Linked DNA regions of Homo sapiens: region 1 is linked to region 2. The links are contacts of gene promoters, found by promoter capture Hi-C in blood cells and fetal thymus (Javierre and others, 2016). All regions are on one chromosome and are shown on one strand. Each heading gives the region's core, a stretch centred on a gene start or on the middle of the fragment in contact. The rest is flanking DNA. Distances are from core to core; before and after follow the strand shown.

Region 1 (7,000 bases), core at 1,527-4,026, 100 kb after region 2:
CAGAAGCCATGATTTCATTCTTTTTTGTGGCTGCACAATTTTATGTAAATACAAACATCCATCCAAAGTATCTTAAATTCCTCCCATATATACTTAACCATTTTTGTGTATGTTTAGTGGATCAACTAGATGGATTTAGAAGCATGACTGTGGAGTGAAGGCCAGTGTGTGTGTAGAACCTGAAGGAGGGGTCCCAGTGTACTTGCTGAACCAGGGAGGAGAGGTTTATCAAGTTTGGGGGATGAGGAATTCTGAGAGGGTGGGGCTCTGTTTTTCCATAGTAGAGCTTATCTATGTCCAGTGGGACTTAGAGAGCTTTTATAACTCTTGCTTCATACATGCACCAAAAAAGAATGCCCTGAGACCGCCCTGAGAGCTTGTGATGTGCTTTCCGTGCTGGTTGGAAGAGATGGGCTCACGAGGCTTTTATTATCAAGGTACCATAATTGATTCAGCGTGTTTCATTCATTTGGCCAAACCCTTCTGATATAATGCCCTTGCTGAAATGTACTAAGACAGAAATCATGGCTTTGAAATTTGACTTCAAAGGGCTGGGCAGGTTTCAGAACATATAAACCATTTTAAGTTAGATATAAGCAGATTAGTAATAAAAATCCACTCTTCATTTACCAGACACATTTGCATGCTTAACATGAGCCAAGGATTGTGCCAAATACTGGAAATGTGAGGGTGGGTCTGGCTTGTCCTTTCCAAGAGGCAGAAAAGTGGGGGCTGATAGTTCTATCTCAAGGGACCACAATAAAGCCTTCCTGAACAGGTTATGCATTTCACCTTTGGCTTTAATTATTAAACATCAAAATGTTTAATAATTAAACCCACCCACACACAGTGGCCATGTGTGTCATATCTGTGACCTTTTAGTAACCACCAATCGGAGTCTGATTACCCTATGTGCATAGGAGTCCTCGGTCTTTATTAATTCTCCTCTAGTACAACATCTGGCACTAGAATGGCAGCATATATGTAGGTGAGTGTGTAGGTCTTGTCATATCTGCACCCTCATGACAGTCTTGTCAGCCCAACTCAGTGTTCTGGACATCTAAAGTCACACAGTGACTGGCAGCCCTGGCTTTGGGGTTCCCTGTGGCCTCCTGCAGTTTCCTTGCTCCTGCTCCTCAGGGCCCACAGCACCTCTGTGGCAGGTTCCCACAGTGCCAGCCCAGGTTCCGGCGTCTGAACACAGCTGCCAGGTCACCAGGGCAGCCTTCCTTCTACCCTCCTCCTGATCAAACAGGCCCTCAGTCTCAGGCCCAGGAGACCGATGGCCAGCAACAGGGACCCTTTCTTTGCTCCCCGGCTAACTGCAGACTCCCCACCCACCCTGCACCCACTGCCAACAACACCTGGGAAACAGCCCCCACACTACCTTGATAGCCAGATCCTCTCCTCTTCTGACCTAAAAAATACGCTTAAAGGAGGTGGTGGAGCCTGACTCAGTGTTCCCGCAGGTGGTGGAAAACCAGCAGCTGTTCAGCGCCTTCAAGGCCTTGCTGGAGGACTTCCGTGCGGAGCTGCGGGAGGATGAGCGTGCCCGACTACGGCTGCAGCAGCAATATGCCAGCGACAAGGCGGCCTGGGACGTGGAGTGGGCCGTGCTCAAGTGCCGTCTGGAACAGGTACCACCCTCCCAGGTCTCCCTCGATCCTGACTGTGTGTCTCTGCTGTCCAGGATATGTGGCGGGGGAGCGGGCACAGAGAGATTCAGAACCATGGGCTTCTTGTCCAGGAAAAAAAGAGAGGAGTGGCTGCTTGTGTCTCTTCTTAAAGTGCAGAGTCCCCATTTTCCCTGATGTCCCCTCTCCCAAGTATGCAGTACGGCCCCCACCAAGCAGCATTTTCAGAGCAGCATGTATTCTCCCATTCTGCATTAAACAAGCTTGTATTTAGCTGCATCAGAGGACGGCCAGGCTGAAGCTGTCATCACACTGAGCTGACATAACTCTAGACAGGAGCAAAGCAAAAGCAGACTGTGGTTTAGTTGTCTTTGAAAAAGGTAAATGCATGCTTTCATTGAGATTTTTCAAAATATCAAAAGAACTTGGAGACCTCCCACTGCATGCCCAAGAATTCTAATACATTTCAGTCTCCTTATTTATATCAAAGGAAACTGAGGCCCAGAAGAAACAGCTCAGCTCAGATCACAGAGCCATGTAGTGCTAGGGCAGGAAGAGAGCCCGGGTTTCCTGCCTCCACCTCACACCACAGAGGGAAGCCCCCTCTGAAGTCTTACACCACAGCCATAGGAGTTAAGATCAGACATAACAAGAAACATCCTTTCCTAAGTGTTTCTTCCTTGGAAACCATTGAATGTCATGTGACTTCCTACATGGTATCTGCTGCTGAGAGCGTCTCTCGAGGTTTCTTCCAGCCCCTTGATCATGAGGAGGGAGGGAAGGTCTGTGTATCCTTGGTAATCTATTTCCTAGACTCTATTTTGAGGCAAACCATAAAGTAAGTAAAATTTTGTAGGGATTGGCCTGGTCATGAAAGGAAAAGAATTGCCTGGAAAGGAGACCCCTGTCACATGGTCTTGATAAAAGATGAAAAAGACTTGATGTGTCAAAAAAAAAAAAAAAAAACTCCAGCTCTCCTGGTACCCACAAGTTCCCCTGCATTTCCACCTGGCCACAGCAAGCAGTGATGCTGAGCTGATAGCCCTGGGTGGGGCAGGGACACAGCCTTGCAGGCCTGGGCATCAAGTGAGAGAGCAGCTGGCCTGATTGTGGCTCCTGCCTGCTGCCCGCGGGGGATTTGACCTAGATGCTCTGTTTATCTTAGTCCCCGGCCTGCAGCATCAGCAGCGGAGGAGAAATGACTAAGGACAGTCTCTGATGAGCTGTCTTTAACCCTATTAAAAAAAATATGTTTATAGGGGGAGTTAAGTGTTTCCAAAGCCCGAACTATAGCTAAGGAAGGGAGGTGTAATCTTCGATGCAAGCCAGTTTCAAAACATTTCATCTTTGTTTTATAGGAACGTAGTATCCACCCACAGGTTTGCCACAAATAAACCCTCAGGGAGAGTGTCCCTAAATACCAAAAAATAAAGCTAGAACTTCAAATTCAGAAGCCAGGTGGTAATAGGTAGAGAGTTTATCTTCTGCCCAAATCATTTAGGAAGTTTCTTAAACATTTGCAACCCAGGAAGCAATGAATATGGGATGATGCTAGCTCATTTGTAATAATCCCATATTTACCCTCTTCTGCTTAAATGCAAAACAGTTTAATTCTGCTACAAGTTACCTTCTTTCAGTGGAGCCCACGTTGATGACACTTCCCAAGTCCACGATTCCTTCAGCAGACTCCTAAGTCAGACCTTGCTCTAAATGTTGAACATCCAGCAACAAATCAGATGTTCCTTGAAGGGGTTCTCAGTGCAGTGGGGGGACCTAGACAAGTGCTGTCCTTTATAACAGCGTGGAAAGTGCCCACAGGGCTTTTGCACGTAGGCTGTCAGGGAACAGGAACGTGCAAGGCACATGCCTTGGCTTGAGAATTCAGGGAAGGCTGTGAAAGTGAAAGTCCTGCTGAGAAAAATCTCAAAGGATGGACAAGAACTGGAATGTGGAAAAGGAGAGAAAGGAAGTTTCAGGCAAAAAAAAAAAAGTATCATGAAGAAAGGAGCATGGCTCATTTGAGAAGCTTAGGTATGAGGGGAAAGAATAATTTTAAGGAATTGATACTTTAATCCTGATTTTATCATGAAAGTTTAGATTCCCTTTTTCAAAAGATTATTCTGGCTTCAAGATAGAGAATGGATTAGGAGCCATTAGAATCGAATGGATTAACCTGGGGTTAATGGTCTGTAGACTGAAATCAGGGAATTGCCAAACCAGAATAGGAAAGAGACGCATCTTTATGGTCACTAACTTTCCACTAAAATTTAGCATGTCCTCCGGTTATAAACATAGGCAACAAGCCCAACAGAAATCACGGATCTTTTTGAAAGGAAGTATGGAATGAAAGAATAAAAAGTAATCACACACATCTCTCCATTTCCCGTTAGAATTGTTGTGGATATCCCAGAATTAACATTGAGGAGGAGACTTTAGGCTTCACCAGGCTGCCAGCTGGGTCCACGGTAAAAACGTTGAAGAGCCTTGGGTTGCAGAGATTGGAGGTGAGAGGGGTGACTCTGAAGTAAAGCAGCAGCAGTGGAGAAGGAGTGGAGGGCACACACCTGAAAAAAACGGAGCAAGTAGAGAGTGGCCGGGCCTGGTGGCCGGTTCATGAGACGCCGTGGAGCAACAGGCACCTCGCACGGCTGTCAGGTTTCTAGTACGGGTGCCTGGGCGATGGGCCATCACTGAGACAGGAACGCAGAGAGACAACCAGTTGGGATGGAAAGGGGACAGGTTGGATTTGAGGTGTGTGTCATCACAGGCACTGGGACTTGAAAAGGGCTGGGCTGAAGATGTATATACCTGGGTGTGAATGAGGAGGTGGGAGGCAGGGCCATGGAGGACGCTGCAGGACTGTGCACAGAATGAAAGGAACTCATAGAAGGAACCAAAATATTCATTTTGCAGAAATTAGTGGAAGGAGAAGAGATTGGAAAGGAGCAGCCAGAGAAATTTATGAAAATCCAAAGCAAATGCTGTCCCAGAAGCCAAAGGGAGAGACGCTGTGGCGTTCCAGGTGGAGTTCAGCGATATCGGATGCTTTGAAGAGGACAGGACAGATGAAGGATAAAAAGTTCTGTTGAACTTGGCAGTGAGGAGGGCACTGCAAAACTTGACAAGAACAGTTGCCGTCAGGTGTGCGGGGCTGAAGGACTGTGCGCTGTGCCGAGGGACAGAAGTTGAGTTTGGCGGTGAAGGGGAAAGAAGGAGCACAGACAGTGCAGTAACAGGAGCCGCGGAGTCATGGGGACGCCTGTCCAGTGAGACCTGACAGTGCAGGGCCACTGATGACACGAGGTTCCTCAGTAGGCAGGGGGATTGGGCTCTAAGCATTGAGGGGAGGGGTGACCCTGACCATGAGAGACCTGAGAGGTGTGGACACAGAGGAGCTTGTGGGCAGAAGGAGTGTCCCTTCACTGTCTTCACAAAGCGGGTGAGCAGAAGTGATGTGGGGCCCAGGAAGGGGTACGCTGCATGAGGAGATTCTAAAGAGAGGACCTGTTGGTTGCTGGAAGCATCTACAGGTGAACAGACGTACGTGCGAGGGGCTCAGCAGCCTGTCTTTCATTCTGGGTTACGTGGACTTCCAGCAGCTCTTTTAAACTGGGATTTTGTGGTGCTTGGTGCTTTTCTGGTAGTCTTCTGGTTAACTAACACTGGAGGTTTCTCCCCTCTTTTGTTTCTGCATTCTTTCTACTTAGAAAAAGTTTTATTTTCCCCAGATTTACATTTTATAAATAATTGATCAAGAAGCGTCACCACTGACCTGTGCCCGTGGCTGTCATCTGCTTCCTCAAGCCTTTCCCTGCTTTCTCTCCAAGCAGGCCTGAGTTCCACTAAGATTCAGGGACAAAACAGTGTGCTCTCCCCGCTTAATGAAGCATTTGCCTTTATTACAGAGGCGAGATTCGATGTTAGCTCTCTCCCAGTGAGTCCCTTGTGAGCAAAAACTTCCAGTTTAACTGAGCACACCACTCAGCAGCCTGTCTTAGTCCGTTTACTGTTGCAATAAAGGAATACCTGAGGCTGGGTGATTTATTTAACAACAAGGTTTATTTAGCTTACAGTTCTGCAAGCTGCACAAGAAGCATGGTGCCAGCATCTGCTGCTGGAGAGGGCCAGGCTGCTTCCACTCAGCAAAAGGCAAAGGGGAGCCGATGTGTGCAGATCACATGGCAAGAAAGGAAGTACAGGTGGGCGGAGGTGCCAGGCTCTTTTAAACAACCAGCTCTTAAAGAAATAATAGAGGGAGAGGTTACTCACTCCCCGCCGCAGGGCATGAATCTGTTCATGCACAGTCCACCCACATGACCCAGACACCTCCCACTAGGCCCCATCTCCGACACTGGGGATCAGATTTCAACGTGAAGTTTGGGGGACAAACATCCAAACTACAGCACTGATACAGACATCTTTCTAAATAGAATAATACTGGGTGGTTTAAGTCATTAATCTTTATATATATATACATATATATATCTATGGTCTCAAAAAAGTTAAAAGAATCTTTTCAGACATGGATAATCAGCTATGAATTATTTTAGTGGGTCTTGAAGTAACTCATTTTAAGAAAGTTAATTGAACTCTACATAGGAATAATGGTTACTGACTTACCATGTCCCTTAGGCAAGTCCCTAAAGCACTGAGCTGCCATTTCTTCACAAATAAACTGGGAATAAGGATACCTATACGTATTTACAGGATTGCAGTAGACACCAAATGAGGCAATCTATGTGAAAGGCCTTCCTTTGAAAAGTATACAATTTGTTAAAATTGTGCACTTAATGAAATATAAGAGATTGCTTATGAGGATAAAAACGAGACACTGAACAGCAAGCTGTTGTGCAGTTTTAGTGTTTGCCCTAGGGTTTATAATATACGTATTTAATTAATCAGAGTCTACCTTGAAGTCCTATTAGGCTACTTTTCATGCTGCCTGAGGAAATTGCAACAGTGTATTCCCAGTTCCTTCCCATCCTCTGTGCCATTGCTGTCATAGTTTACCTCTACATATTCTGTAAACACACAACACACTGTAACAATTTTTGCTTTAGATAATCAAATATTAAAACAGAAAATAATGAGTTTTATATTTACATAGATGTCATTTCCAGTGTTTATTTTCTGTATAGATCAAAGTGCCTGTTGGTATATTCCTTCTGCCTAAAGAACTTCCTTTTTCATTTCCTGAAGTACAGGTCTGTTGGCAATGGTTTTTTTTGTTTTTTTGTTTTTTTCAGTTTTCATTTGCTGAAAAGTGTTTTCCTTCTTTTTTGAAAGATACTTTTTCTGCGTACAGAATTGTGTCTAGGTTGAGATCTTTTTTCTTGAACACTTTAGATGCCACTCCATCATCTTCT
Region 2 (7,010 bases), core at 4,000-6,499:
ACAGTGTTTTTCAATGGGAAGTAAGATAATTACTTGCATCAAAAGTATTTGTTAAAAATACAGCCTTCCGGCCGGGCGTAGTGGCTCACACCTGTAATCCCAGCACTTTGGGACTCTGAGGCGTGCGGATCATTTGAGGTCAGGAGTTTGAGACCAGCCTGGCCAACATGGCGAAACCCTGTCTCTACTGAAAATACAAAAAATTAGCTGGGCGTGGTGGCGGATACCTGTAATCTCAGCTACTCAGGAGGCTGAGGCAGAAGAGTCGCTTGAGTCCAGGAGGCGGAGGTTGCAGTGAGCCAAGATCGTTCCACTGCACTTTAGCCTGGGCAACAGAACAAGATTCCACCTCAAAATAATAATAATAATAATAATAATAATAATAATAATAATAATACAGCTTTCTGGGCTCATATCTCTTAAATCAGATCCCTGGGGATGTGGCCAGATAATTTGCATTTTTAACAGTCTCACCAGGAGATTTTAATGACCTCAAGGTTTAAGAGCCTCTTAAGTTATTGTCATTGTCACCACCAATGCCATGCACAGCTGCCAATCTGGACATGAAGCCTTTTTCAGGTCCCATGTGGCATTTTGGCAATCACCCTTGCAAAGAGAGCTGGGAGGTCCCCACAGACCCCAGTGTTGGATGCAGACTCCAGCTTCAACCTTGGCGGGTGGTGGGGAGGCGGGGGGATCAGGCATTATTAGGTTGTCTCTTTTTAAGGTTAACTTTCTTGCAGTGCCCAAAAAGCCACTCACTCTGAAAAATTCCCTCTTCTTTCCATTCTTTTCAAAGAGTATGATTTCATGATTTCTCATGACTTCAACCAGGAATGCTTTCATATTTTAAATGTGCCTTTCTGTTAAAATAAGGGGAAAAACTGGAAGATACACATATGCCTGGGTTTGGACAATGTATTAAAGGTATAGAAATTCTGCATATAATTCTGCCTGGGAGTATAGAGTGAAGTATAGTCCTGAGTAAGTCACATTTTTTTTTTTGTCTATGAGTCAAACCAAGTAAAAAAAGAATTCATTTCTCTTTATATAACTGTATAGACACAGAATAGATTTCTAACTCTCTGAGTGAGAGTTTGGAATCTGAGTGAAAAATCTGGTTTGCTCATATTTTAAGAGTTTTGAAGATTATTTCACTGGTGTTAAATAATGATGATGATTCTGAAGATTATTTCACTGGTGTTAAATGATGATGATGACTTGATAACAATACCTTACCCAAGGCCACACAGACAGCAAATGACTTGGGCAGGATTTGAACCCAGATTTACCTGGTGTCAAAGCCTCAGGTCTTGTCACCATACCACACCGTTCTTGGACAAAGAGGTTGTGAACACAGCCACACAAACATTACTCATCACACCACTGCTGCACGCAGCTCCCTAGGACAGTATTTGGGCCTCTGCAGAGGAATGAGACGATGGGGCCCTGGGCCTTGTGCCAGCATTTACAATCCAGGGTTGCAATGCAGGGAATCAGCCACAGTGAAGCAACCCGGAGATCTGCAAGCACAGGAAGGCACCACCACCCTTGATACGAGGCAGTGGAGGACGAAAAGCTACCAGGAGGAGTAGTCCATCCAGTGATGGCTGGAACCTCAGAAATCCACTCCTCACAGAGACCCAGCCACTGCCAGAGAAGCCGCCTGCAGCAGAGAGAGTAAGAAATAACCTGGTTTCTTCCTTCTGGGTCCACTCCCATCTCCTGACGGCACCTCCACTGGCCAAACCCAATCAGCAAACCCAGCGGCCTGGAAACCCACACTTCCACTCACATCAGAGTAGCAGAGGGGCAAGACTGGATCTGAGGGCACGCAGATGAAAACAGGCACGCCCATGCTGGGTTTTGTTATTTCACAGAATAAGCACTCTATGGTTCCCTTAAATAGTAAATCCTCTATTACCTTTAGATTAATTTGATTTAACAGAAAAAGAATTTAAAATCAAGTATTTCCTTTCTTTGCTCCCTCCTTCCCTTCCTCCCTTCCCTTCCCTTCTTTCCCTCCCTCCCTCCCTGCCTCCTTCCCTCCCTTCCTTCCTTCCCATTTTTTTGAGACAGGGTTTCACTCCCATCACCCAGGCTGGAGTGCAGTGGCATGATCATGGCTCACTGCAACCTCCCCTCCTGGGCTTGAGGGAGCCTCCTGCCTCAGCCTCTCAAGTAGCTGGAACTACAGGTGTATGCCACCATGCCCAGCTTATTTTTGTATTTTTGTGTTTTTTTGGTAGAGACAGGATTTTGCCATGTTGCCCAGGCTGATCTCCAACTCCTGAGCTCAAGCTATCTGCCCACCTTGGCCTCCCAAAATGCTGGGATTACAGGCGTGAGCCACCACGCCTGGACCACTTTTTCTTTTTCTTTTCTTTTCTTTTTTTTTTTGAGTGACTTTAAAAAACATCTATTATGCAATCAGATATCTCTTTATACCTGTAACTCACTGAATACTGGAAAACAAAGAAGGCATTATTGGCTGGGCTGGGTGGTGCATGCCTGTAGTCCCAGCTACTTGGGAGGCTGAGGTGGGAAGATGGCTTAAGCCCAGGAAGTTTGACTTCAGTCTGGGCAACATAGCAAGACCCCATCTCTTAAAAAAAAAAAGGAAGAAAAAAGAAAAAAAAAGAGAAAGCATTGATTGAATACTTCCTTACAAAGGGCTAGTAGTCTCATTTGCCAGGCTAATAATAAGTAGTAAGGAGGATGAATTTTATCTGACTTATTACCTGAAAGAAAGAGAAGCTGGCTGCAAATCCTATAGTCATCAAGCTACTGTCTTTAGAAGACTAGCGTATTGAAACTTTTTTGGGGGGCCCTTTCTTTGAGTGTATATGGTATGAGAAGCTGGCAAGCTTGTGCTGAGAGTCCTGGCCATAATTCTTCGGAAATGTGAGGGTGTGGGAGGCTTCAGAGCCTCTGGAGGAAGTTCTAGGCAGAGGTCAGTTGTGCTCTGGCCCGACCGCGGGCCCCCTCCCACGGAAGGGCAGAGCTAGAGGGCCCTCTGGGGACAGCAGGCCCGGCGCGAGCGGTGGCCAACACCTCTCAAGCCTTTCGAGGTGTGCCGTCATCCACGCCCACCGTGGAGCCAACAGTGTCCTTCTCCCAACGCTGGAGAAACGGCTAGGGCATTAGCCTCAAAGGAGATTAAGGAATTGGATTTCGTAGAGATTGGATTTCGTGCGTGCTGTCTCCCATTCAGAGGCATTCCCAGAAAAACGACTCACAAAGACCACAACAGCAGCAGAGCAGGCGAGGTCTCAGTGCCCCCAGAGCTCAGCCAGGGCGAGGCAGGACGACTTCGGGGCAGGGCTCTCCTGACGTAGGGATTACAACAAAAGGGTTCATCCTGCATTTTTTGAAGGAGATGGCTAAGTAGGGTAAATCTGTGGTTAAGATCACAGACTTTGGAGTCGATTTTTTCCTCCTATTTTTGCGAGTCGGCCCCCTCTTCTCTGTCCCTGCTCCCAAGGCCCCCTCACCGCGCATACTGCCACAGCCGCTCGCAGCTCCCGTGGCCCACCTCCCTCTCCTCCAGGTTGCTGCCCCCGGGGTCTTTTTGAGCACATCAGATCATCTTGCTCAGAATACCCCGTGGCTACCGCCTCTAGGATAATGCCCAACGGCCTTGGTAGGATATTTGGTGCCACACACCCTCCAGTCTCCCCTCTAATCCCTAACCTACCTGCCTCCCCGCCCAGGGGCCCTGCTCTCTGCAGGCTCTACTGTGTCCTGGGCCCTCAGCTGAGAGACCAACCCGTCCTTCCAGGAAAATGCGAGCCTCACCAGGCAGGGTTATGCTCCCGCCCTCCTCCTTGTAATTATTACCTGACCCTCTGCCTCCTGCAACGCCAGGGCTGGAGGACAGGCTGGCCCCTATTCCTATGGGCACTGGCCAACATCCAACGCCTGGGACATAAACTGCACCCAATGGTATGTGAACTGTACTTTACAGTTTGCACGGTGTGTTCTGGTATTTGCTAAATCTTCACACATGCTCAGGTGGCAGTACGTTTTAATGATACAGGCGAGGGAACTGGGGCTCAGAAAGGTCTAGTGCCTTGCGCATGGGAGACTCAAGTGGTAGAACCGGTGGCCGGGCTCCGGGCTCTGAGCGGAAAGCCTGCAGGACTCGGAATCCTGAAGACCTGGGTTTAAACCCGCTCAGCTAGGGACTGGGTGAGGCATCGCAGGCAAGTGACTTCACCTCCCAGCGCCGGTGCCCTAGTCTTCACCGAAGACAGCAATTCCAATCTGGGACTGTGGTGAGGCTTAAATAAAACACTGCTCAGTAAGTGGCCAGCAGGCCTGGCTCGCAGCCGGAACTATAAATGTGAGTTCCCTTTCTGACCCCCAGGTTTGGCGAGGGCTCCTCCTGTTTGGGCAGCAGCTCCTCCTGAGCTCCCGAGGCCACGGGGGTGCCAACTGTGGAGCGCCCGCCGTGCCGTTTAGACGCGAGAGCTGCGTCGGGTACCAGCGATCCTTAAAGGAGCTCGGGGACCAGGGGCACAGCTTGGAGAGGACAGCGAGGGAGGTGACTGGCCTCGGGGAGGCGGGCGGTGGATGGAGAGGCATGAGAGGGGTGTTGTCAGCCGCGGCACACGCCTTCCCCAAGTGGCCGGCGCCGCCCCTTGCCACCACTTCACCTCCGCCTCTTCCCTTCCTCCCTAGCTCCTGGCAGCGTCTCTAGGGCCTCAAAAAGCAAGGAGGGTCCCCGGGCAGCGAGGCCCCATGGATCCAGCCTGCGCCTGCTCCCAAGGGCGCGCAGGTCCCGCCCCTGCCGGGCGCCCGCCCCCCGGGGAGCGCAAGCCCCCGCCCCTTCCCTCGCCCCTCCCCTGCACGGCGCCGGCTGGCTGGAGGCGGGGCATGCGCACGGGCCTGGGCGAGGGCGCTGGGCGGCGGGGAGGTGGGGCGCGCGCGTGCGGCTTCTCTCAGCCGGGAGCGGCGGGGGCGGGCACGGGCAGCAGCGGGCCGGCGGTGGGCGGGGAGCGGGACGCGGGAGCCGGGCGCGCGCCGCCAGCGCCGCCGCGGCACCGGTGACCGCGAGCCCGGAGCGCGAGGTCCGGGGATGCGAGCGGCCGGGAGCCGCCGCGCTGCTGAGCCGGGAGAACTCGATCCGCGGTGACCTCAGCGAGGGGCGAGCGCGGCGGCGGCGAGCCCCGCGGGAATCCTCGGGGCCGGGGTGCGGGGGGCGGGGACGGCGGGAGCGCGGGGCGCAGCCCGGGCGGGGCTGGGACAGTGATGAGAGAGCGCGCGGGGAGGCTGCACGCCGCCGCCGCCGCCGCCGCCGCCGTCGTCGTCCGGAGCATCTGCTGCCTGAGCTGCTGCCGGCGGACCCGGCCATGGAGACACTGAACGGCCCCGCGGGCGGAGGTGCCCCGGACGCGAAGCTGCAGCCGCCCGGCCAGCACCACCGCCACCACCACCTCCACCCGGTGGCCGAAAGGCGGCGGCTGCACCGTGCGCCCTCGCCCGCCAGACCCTTCCTCAAGGACCTGCACGCCCGGCCCGCCGCGCCCGGCCCGGCCGTCCCCTCCTCGGGCCGAGCCCCGGCTCCCGCCGCCCCGCGCTCGCCCAACCTCGCGGGCAAAGCGCCGCCCTCGCCGGGGTCCCTGGCCGCGCCCGGCCGCCTCTCTCGGCGCAGTGGCGGCGTCCCGGGCGCGAAGGACAAGCCCCCGCCGGGCGCCGGGGCCAGAGCGGCGGGCGGTGCCAAGGCTGCCCTGGGAAGCAGGAGGGCGGCGCGCGTGGCGCCCGCGGAGCCGCTGTCCCGGGCTGGGAAGCCTCCCGGAGCCGAGCCGCCGTCTGCCGCTGCCAAGGGCCGCAAAGCCAAGCGCGGCTCCCGGGCGCCACCCGCCCGCACCGTCGGCCCCCCGACCCCGGCCGCCCGGATCCCTGCCGTGACCCTCGCGGTGACCTCGGTGGCCGGGTCCCCGGCCCGCTGCTCGCGCATCAGCCACACGGACAGCAGCTCCGACCTCTCTGACTGCCCCTCCGAACCCCTGTCCGACGAGCAGCGCCTGCTCCCTGCCGCCAGCAGCGACGCCGAATCCGGCACGGGCTCCAGCGACCGTGAACCCCCACGAGGAGCGCCGACGCCGAGCCCCGCAGCCCGAGGAGCGCCGCCGGGCAGCCCCGAGCCCCCAGCGCTCCTCGCCGCGCCCCTCGCCGCGGGCGCCTGTCCCGGGGGCCGGAGCATCCCGAGCGGGGTTTCGGGGGGTTTCGCGGGGCCCGGCGTGGCGGAGGATGTCCGGGGGCGCTCGCCACCGGAGCGACCAGTCCCCGGGACCCCCAAGGAGCCCAGCCTGGGCGAGCAGTCTCGGCTCGTGCCAGCGGCGGAGGAAGAAGAGCTGCTGCGGGAGATGGAGGAGCTGCGCTCGGAGAACGACTATCTCAAGGTGAGCCGCGCCTCGGCCGCAGGTGTCCCGGGGCGCCCCCGGAGGGCCTGGCTGCGGCGGGGACCCGCCAACCCCTCCTTCCCGGGCCTGTCCAGCGCCTTCTCCCTCCTGCTCTCCACGGTCCTACCCCCGCATTGTCAGGCATTGGCAACTTAAGCCCAAACTTCTGGAAGGAGAAGCAAGACCTGTGGGACCCCGCCAGTTCGCAACCCACTTCTCTTTTCTCGCGTCTAGAACTCTTGCGTCTCTTCGCTGATACTTTTACTTTTGTTGACCTGTTGGGGCAGAGGAGGCTGTAATCGTTTTGGGGACATCAGCGGACGCCCCCATCCCCGCTCAGAACGTGCCAGCCTCACCTGTAGGAACAGGTGATCCTTCGCCAGGGAGCTCTAGCCGGGCCACGTGCGGGCGTGGCGGTTCAGGATAATGCCACTGGAGGGCCCCCGGCTACGGACCCGCTTGCCCCTTCTCCTGCAATTACGGAAAGAGCTGGGGGCTCTCAGGGTCTCCTGGGCTCCGACATCCCGGGTAGAGGGGGCCGCGCCGTTTTCGGTGAGCAAGCTGAAGCTCAGTAGAGGTCCTTGGAGTGTGGCCCGGGTTGAG

Evidence for each region. Contacts are between HindIII fragments. The CHiCAGO score rates a contact against its expected background, and 5 or more counts as called.
Region 1: a contact is called between a fragment that was not itself captured here and the fragment with the promoter of MTCL1 in region 2, in 1 of 17 cell types (endothelial precursors). The highest score is 5.2, in endothelial precursors.

The regions. Positions count from the first base shown.
Region 1 is chr18:8,805,424-8,812,423 of GRCh38, forward strand. It overlaps MTCL1 (microtubule crosslinking factor 1), which reads left to right. Exons shown (of 15, transcript NM_001395333.1): 10 at 1,470-1,637. Among named protein-coding and RNA genes, the nearest start is that of GACAT2, 100 kb to the left of the region's middle. The HindIII fragment of the contact is 1,763 bases long and covers 1,896-3,658 here.
Region 2 is chr18:8,700,307-8,707,316 of GRCh38, forward strand. MTCL1 (microtubule crosslinking factor 1) reads left to right here and starts at 5,250. Exons shown (of 15, transcript NM_001395333.1): 1 at 5,250-6,407. The coding sequence starts at 5,355. GACAT2 (gastric cancer associated transcript 2) reads right to left here. Exons shown (of 2, transcript NR_120598.1): 1 at 6,764-7,010. RefSeq lists silencers at 4,595-5,034, 5,415-5,474. The HindIII fragment of the contact is 5,801 bases long and covers 2,866-7,010 here.